Linked DNA regions of Homo sapiens: all the other regions are linked to region 2. The links are contacts of gene promoters, found by promoter capture Hi-C in human tissues and cell types (Jung and others, 2019). All regions are on one chromosome and are shown on one strand. Each heading gives the region's core, a stretch centred on a gene start or on the middle of the fragment in contact. The rest is flanking DNA. Distances are from core to core; before and after follow the strand shown. Region 1 has its middle 120 kb from the start of PRR20A. Region 2 holds the start of PRR20A (proline rich 20A). Region 3 has its middle 81 kb from the start of PRR20E.

The links. Contacts are between HindIII fragments. The study calls those that stand out against the background at their distance.
Region 1: a contact is called between a fragment that was not itself captured here and the fragment with the promoter of PRR20A in region 2, in 4 of the 25 tissues and cell types used here (dorsolateral prefrontal cortex, mesendoderm cells, spleen and 1 more).
Region 3: a fragment that was not itself captured here is called in contact with the fragment with the promoter of PRR20A in region 2 in 8 of the 25 tissues and cell types used here (bladder, dorsolateral prefrontal cortex, lymphoblastoid cells and 5 more).

The regions. Positions count from the first base shown.
Region 1 is chr13:57,017,734-57,020,433 of GRCh38, forward strand. No RefSeq gene overlaps it. Among named protein-coding and RNA genes, the nearest start is that of PRR20A, 120 kb to the right of the region's middle. The HindIII fragment of the contact is 5,092 bases long and covers 1-2,700 here.
Region 2 is chr13:57,139,624-57,142,323 of GRCh38, forward strand. PRR20A (proline rich 20A) reads left to right here and starts at 1,295. Exons shown (of 3, transcript NM_198441.2): 1 at 1,295-1,508; 2 at 1,663-1,733. The coding sequence starts at 1,682. The HindIII fragment of the contact is 47,953 bases long and covers 1-2,700 here.
Region 3 is chr13:57,246,746-57,249,445 of GRCh38, forward strand. No RefSeq gene overlaps it. Among named protein-coding and RNA genes, the nearest start is that of PRR20E, 81 kb to the left of the region's middle. The HindIII fragment of the contact is 6,474 bases long and covers 1-2,700 here.

The DNA of each region.
Region 1 (2,700 bases), core at 98-2,597, 120 kb before region 2:
ATTATAGAATTGTCTCCTCAGTGTTATTCTTACCTTCTCAAAGTAACTTAGTCTGTAAGGTAGACAGGTGAATCTTTCGGGGAAAAAAAAAATCCTCAAGTGGTATGTCTTAGAACTAAGAACCTGAATAAAAGCTGATATGTGATCTGAAGAAATTTGAGTAGGCCTTCATGTGGGGAAAAAAAAAAAAGATTAGACTTTACTGAAAGTGTGTAATGAAGAATAGGTAAGCGGAAGTGAGTTTATTCAAGCATAAGAAAGAGAAAGCTTGGAGAGACTCATCATTAGTTTGGGGTTATATGAAAAAGGTCTCGTACGGTAGTATTGAATAGTTTTTCCTCTACATTCACTGAATATAGGACAAGGGGGAATAAGTTTAAATTGCAGAAAAGTAAGTACTTCCTGACTGTGGGTATCATAAGCCACAAGAATGTGTTATCAAGAGAGGTTACAGTATTTTCTTCTCTAAAGGTGTTTGAAAAAAATCTTTTATAAAAAATTATCCTCCAATAATTTTGGCACTATCTAGCTAAAAGCAGGGAAATAATCCTCTGTTAAATTATCACACCATTTAATTCCATTCCAAGAGTGAATTATGAAAATGAAAAATGATTTTAAAATGTACTTTTTCAAAGTAAAAAGGTGTACAAAATCTTGTGATCAATAAAGCTCACATATCTGAAAATTCTAATTATTCTAAAAATAATGTTATTTTTGATAGCATAATATAGAATAATTTTATTCTAAAAATTATAATTTCACTTGGTTTTCTTTGCCAAAATGAAGTAAAGCATTTAATAAAAGACAGAATATTCTTGCTGTACAACCTGCTGCTATAGAGGTCATATAGCAAAATGACATTAAAGAAATAGAAATAAATACATTTATAGCTATTTATATTATTATGACTTTTAATATTAAGATAGTCATTTCTAATGTTTTAGGGCATAATGTGGTGAGAGAGGACACATTTTCATATACAAAAATTCTAACACTGTTTATCTGACGTTTGTCAATTTTACTCCTTATTTGTTTATGTCATTTCTCCTTCTTTCTTTTTTTCTTTTTTTTTTTTTTTGAGATGGAGTCTCACTCTTTTGCCCAGACTGGAGTGCAGTGGCACAATCTCAGCTCACTTCAACCTCCATCTCCCAGGTTCAAGTGGTTCTCCTGCCTCAGCCTCCTGAGTCGCTGGGATTACAGGCACCTGCCACCACGCCCAGCTAATTTATGTATTTTTAGTAGAGATAGGGATTCTCCACGTTGGCCAGACTGGTCTTGAACTCCTGACCTCGGGTGATCCACTCGCCTTGGACTCTCAAAGTGCTGGGATTATGGGCGTGAGCCACCGCAACCAGCCCAGTTCTTCTTTACAGCACTATAATCTGGCCTTTGATACTTACCGTGTCTCACAGATACTGTGCAAACAGACTAATGAGGTAACATTTATATATCCATGTTGAAATTCAGTAAGAGATCATAAAGTACTATTTACCTTTAAGAAAGATGAACTCAGGTACCTAAACTAAACATTATTCCTTGATAAAACATTTTAAAACATAATGGTGTACTGATTTATATGAAAAATAAAATATCATTCCACCAGTTTATTTTAGATGACAATCGGAAATTATTTTGGCATATATGTTGCAATCATTAAATGAAGCCATTCCCATTGCATATCAGGAGAATGGAAAGTTGCTTCCTAGTTTGAAGAAGTGTTCCTAGTACACAAGATATAGAAGAGAAGAGTTGTGAGGAGAAAATGATTATATGCAGGAAATCTGAGCAATGTTTGTAAGACTTGTTTTGGATGACTAGAGATATGTGAATTCAAAAATCAAAGTAAAACAGGAATTGAAACAAACAAAAAGCACTTCAAGAAATTGGAAAAATCACATGCATTATTTTTACCTTCAGAAGAATTCAGAGCGTTAATCAAGGTAACAAAGAATAAAAATCACTTCTTCTATGTTCCTCTCCATTAGAGGCAGAAATAAAATTATTCTCTAATGTGCCCCCCCAACTCTCACTTTTTAAAAATACGTGTATATCCTTGATATTAAATATGCCACTGCTTGTAGCAAAATCAGTTTCTCTCCTGATTCATTCAGGTAAGGCTGCTAAGAAATTAACATGTATAGATCCGGTGTCTCAACTCAGTTTATGCTCAAGTCTTAATGTTTACATTTTGGACTCTTCCATGAGCAACTTCAGTCTCTGTACTAGTTTCATTTCTTAAATTTTATGTCTTGCCAAATGGGAAGCTGCAACAAGGTATGTGATGAAAGATTAACGGGTTGTAGGAGAGAAGGACAGCATTTTTATTTACTTAAACCACTAGCATGCCTGTAACCCACCCATATCAAGTATGCTGTACTTCTGTTCTAATATTTACACAATTTATTTCATTTGTTTATTACACATGTGTATCATCCCTAGTAGGCTCTAAGTTACCTAAGAGAAAGATCAGATCTCAAAGATTTTAGTATTCCCATGTCCAAAAATAGCAACATAGAAAACAATGAATGAAATATTTGTGGAATAGGGACAGAGCAAGATGATAGAATAGAAAGCTTCACCTGTCATCTCCCTCAGCAAGGACACCAAGTTAACAATGATCTAAATAGGAACACACCTTTATAAGAACCAAAAATCAGGTGAGCACTCATAGTGCCTGATTTTAACTTTATATCACTG
Region 2 (2,700 bases), core at 45-2,544:
ATAGCAGCAGTGATAAGCCGGCTTGATGGTGTGTACTCTAGACAGGATGGGATGGGAATGGCGCTTTCCCGCTGCAATCTTCCTGACAAAAACATATAATTCCAGTCAGATCACAAGGAATACATCACACGAACTTCAGGAGAGGACATCCCACAATATATCTGATCAGTATTCAAAGTGTCAGAGTCATCAAAAACAAGGCAAGTGTGAGAAACCGTCGCAGCCAAGGGGAACCGTGACGAGTTGTAAGGTGGTACCCTGGATGGGGTCTTGGGACAGAAAAGGTATGTGAGGTGAAAGCATAGCAAAACCTCACTTCAACAGGAAATACAACCCAAAAAAGTAATTGGCCCGGCATGGTGGCTTGCGCCTGGGGTCCCAGCGACTCGGGAGGTTGAGCGGGACGGACGGCTTGAGCTCAGGCCTTCCAAACAAGCCTGGGCACATAGCGAAAACTCGTCTCTCCAAAAAAATCCGAAAATTATCCCGATGTGGTGGCGCTCACCTGTAGTCCAGCTACTCCGGAGGCCGAGACAGGAGAATCACTTGAACTGATTCTCCTATCTCAGCCACCCCCCCCCAACCCCCCCAAGTAGCCGCAGCGAGCCGAGATGGCACCGCTGCACTCCAGCCTGGGCTACAGAGCGAGAACCAGTCTCTGTAAAAAACACAAGGATGCAAACCAACCAAATAACCCACTGTGGGATCCCCTCCAGCGTCCTGCTGTGTTTCCCGCTGTCTTCCTCCACCCGTGAGTGCACCCACAGCAATAAAAGCCAGCGGTGTGGGTCTCACACGCATCTCCAGCCCCGTCTCACACGCACCACCTCCGGGCCTGGACTTGGCCTCCCGTCCATTCCCAGAATGTGCCGGGCTCCCTTCCAGTCCGGGCCTCAGCACACTCTCTTCACTCCCCTTCCTCCCTCCCTGCCTCTCCCAACCCGGTTCAGGATGACTAATTTCAAACGTTATGTTCCAGATTTCAGCCCAGATATCCCCGCTTTGGATGCTTTCCTTGACCATGCTCAGATCTAAGCTAATCGCATCTTCCTGTCAGCCGCTTTCAGGGCACCACACCTCATTGTGCTGACACTCAGAGGTCATTATGCAATTTTTTTTCCTCGATGATTAGATTAATCAATCAACCACGGACGTCTAGAAATGGCGGCATCTCAGAAGGGCCCCCATTTGACTGGCAGGGGACTGGCCCAATGCGCCTCGCAAGCCCAGCCAGGCCCGCCCCAGCCGGCCCCCCTCTGACGACGCCTGTCCCTTACGCGACTGCCTTGCTGCCATATAAGAGGGACGGCGCTCGGCCTCCAGCAGTCGGCTTTCTGCTGGGCTCGGAGCCAGAACCTGCTGCGTGCTCCCTCCAGACTCCCTGGCTGCGGGTGGACTACCTCAGAGCTACAGCGGTGAACCTGTGGACACCTCCGACTCCTCGGGCCTCTCTTCGTCGAAGAGTCTCCTAATTTTCAGATCTCCGGAGCCAGCTGTGGGAAGATCAGGTGTGTGTCTGGGGGTCCCGGAGGCGTGGACGGATCTCGGGTGGGTGCAGTTGGGGACAGAATCCTCATTCCCCTAGAAAGGCCACGGCCATCCCCCTGCCTTGTCACCTCTGTCTTCCTAAATCCGTTCTTGCTCTCTTGTTTTTCTCCCCAGCCCCTCCCGCCGATTGCTCATGGAGGAACCAAGGCCTTCGAAGCGACTTCGCTCCATGGCCCCTAATCAAGGTACATCAAACGCCTGCCACTCCTCTCTTTTTAATTTCGTCTGTTCCCCAATTCTTCCCCAATGGTTGACACTCAAACTCAATCAAGCATTCTCTGTTTCACCTTCTCCTAGCCTGCCTCAACCTGGGCTGCTTGTTGGAAGTCAGCTCCCGGGTTCCACATCATCTGGGAAATTCCTTTCCCTCTTCCGAACCGTAATCCCATTTCCCAAATCTGAGATTTGCTGTTGTTGTCGCTGTTTCCTTCTGTTTAGTTTTGTATTACTGTTTCTCCGTAGCAGAGCGAGTCCTCACGCTACGTCTTGATCTATGATAAACCGGTACTTCCACCTTGTTCTTTCCCGGAGGAGTTGGAATTTTCCGGCTGTTGCCACGTTGTTCTCCAAAACTTTTCCCTTCATACGCTGAGTGTCCTAAATCTTTTAATCTTGTCTAGTTTGACAGATGCATAACAATAAAGCATCCACTGAAAGGAAATTCTTTAACATCTTGCTTGTCTGAAACATCTTCATTCTCCCCTCCCAGATTCTTCAGCGAAACTTCGGTTGGACAGGAAATTTTAGGTGGGAAATTCATTTCCCTTGAAATTTCGAAGACATTTTCTGTTATGTTCTAGACTGAACTGCTGCTTTTGAGATGTCTGACTTTTGAGACATGTGGAATCCTAGCCCTTTCCATGTGACTTTTCCTTTCTCTGTCTCCCGCTCTCTAGAATCTGTTAGAATCTTCTCTTTTTCCTCAGCACTCTGAAATTTTCTGGTGAAATGTCTCAGCCACAGCATACCTCTAATTCTCTTATATTTCATCCTTCTTTCCATCATTTTAGGTTTTTGCTTTGTTCTGTGGGAGACCTTCTCAACTTCATTCTCCAACTTCCGTGGAGAGTTTTGTTTCTTCTCTCACAATTTTAACTTCAGAAATCCCTCTTTTCTCTGAGTATTTATTTGTAAAAGTATCCTATAACTGCT
Region 3 (2,700 bases), core at 9-2,508, 110 kb after region 2:
CAAACAAGCTCTTGCATATACAATTATTTTCCATCAGCTGCTTCTTAAGAGCATAAAGCCAATTGTGCATTTAAGCTAGAAAATGAACCTCAGGGCATACCCATCTGTCTAAACATATAAGCACATTTCCAACAGAGTTATAAGGACAGATTGTTCTTTAACTGAGGTGATGGATGTGAATGGTTAAGAAAATATGAATTATGAAGACTACACAGTTTTAATGCATTGTTCTCCATTTTTACAATTATATTTTGAAGAGATATTGTCAACTTTGGGTAATTATTACTATTATTATCAAAGCGACATTGGCATTAAGGTGTTTACAGATTAGAAAAGGTAACTACAATCACAAAAAGTGCATTAAAGAGACAACTAAACATTGCAGAAATAAAAATATATACATGGCTGACAAAGTCATATGCTTATCTCTTGTAAATTACAACAAACTTAAGGTGCATGAATTCTGTTTTATATAAAATGTATATGTCAAAACAGCATCATTGCTGTGTCTAATGCAATTAAATACAGTAATGAGTCATTCTTACAATGACATTTTTACCTCACTAGTAGCCCATGATACTCATAAAATGAGAAATAACATGGGCTACTATGAAAACCTATAAGGTAGTTATCTTATGATCTCACTCATATGTGGAATCTTAGAAAAGATGGTCTCATGGAAGTATAGAGTAGAATAGTAGTTACCAAGGGCTAGGAAGTGTAAGGGGGAGAAGGCAATAGGCAGAGGTTCTTCAGCAGATACAAAATTATAGTTACGTAGGAGGAATATGTTCTAGTGTTCCATGACATAGAAAGGTGACTATAGTTAATAATATCATGTATTTTAAAACAGCTAAATGAGACATTTTTAATGTTCTCACTACAAATAAATGATAAACGGATAAATATTTGAGGTGATGGAGATGCTAATTACCTTAATTTGATCATTGTACATTGTATATATATATATATCAAAACATCACACTGAGTCCCATAAATATGCACATTATGCATCATTTCAAATAAAATAATACTTTAAAAATACAATTTATATGTATAATAATGCAGAATAAAAGAAATTATCTCTACAACTAAATTAGTCAGTTAAAGGGTTATTCTAAATTGTGAGGAGCATCTTCATCACAGCCTCTTACTCAGAAAACAATAAGTTTCTGTGAGTAGAGTAAATGTGAACTAAGAGAGAAAAATGTTCAAAGTTTATGTTAAACAATCACTTGCCTTCTGCTTTGTGAGGAAATAAAAAGCTTTCTCTACTATGAATTTTCTTTTGAAATACAAAGGTCAGTATTTGAAATAAAAGAATAGGGAATTGTTAAAAACTGTACAGCTTTCAAGTGAGGGTAAAAATTGGAAGGGGTAGGTATGTTAATGACAGCAAGAATGAGTCCAGAAAAATGTGAGCATACAAAGTATTTTTTTTTCTTAATGTTTGGAAAATTGGTTCATGAAATTAGGAGTAATCATTTAGGTTCACGGAGTGGTACCCAAAGACTTGCAATGATTTCCAGTAAGAGCAAGCGATTTATATATACTTCTTAAAATTATCCTGTTTCTTTGCATATGCAATTTTGTGAACGCCAAATCCTCATTTTGACCTAAAAATTTCCTTCTGGAAACAAACAAACGAATATCTCCCTGTGTTTACAAAGTCACAGTCCTCTAGTTATGGATTGAAAACATAGGCTTTTAATTGTTTTATTATCTACTTTGTATTATTGTAATTTAGAATCTTTACTAGAATAGAATAAAGATTGCCTTGTTGGTTGGACTGATTTTTAATTTTATAGAAAATCAAATAACAGTTTGTACTCTCTTCAGTGAGCTTTTCCTATTTAATATTATACATGTGGGATTTATCCATATTGCAGAAAATTATTTTAAATATTAATTATATATTTTTATTTATATATTGTTATAGTTAGCAATACATGTTAAAGAAATATTAGGTATCATTAGCAGCATTTCTATCCTCCTCTCTCTCTTCTTTTCTTTCCACATTCTTCTCCTCCTCTTTCCCATTGCTTTCTCATTCATAGAGCAGGATGTTCCCTCTTTTCTTGGTTTACACTTGTTCGGGGGAATAATATTCCCCAGCTAATTCATAGAATTGGAGCCATGGGAATTATTTCTTGAAGCTGTTGTCCATCAGAAAATGAATTTATTCTGTAATCTCATGTGATTAAAATAGAAAGTCAGCAAGAACATGTACTGGGGGAAGGATACCCTTTTCAATAAATGGTGTTGGAAAAATTGATTGCCATATGCAGAAGAATGAAACTGAACCCCTATATCTCACCATATATAAATTCAACACAAGGTGGATTAAAGACTCAAATTCAAGACCCCAAACTATAAAAATACTAGAAGAAAACCTAGGGAAACTCTCCTGGACAATGGTCTAGGTAAATAATTCATGACTAAGACCTCAAAAGCAGCACAAGCAACAAAATCAAAAATAGATAAATGGGACCTAGTTAAACTAAAATGTTTCTGCACAGCAAAAATAATGATCAACAGAATGAACAGACAACTTGCAGAATGAGAGACAATATTTGCAAACTATACATCCAACAGGGAACTAATATCCAGAATTTCCAAGGAACAAAAACAAGTCAACAAGAACAACAAAAATAACCCCAAATAATGTTACTGAACACTGTGCAAAGGACATGAGTATAC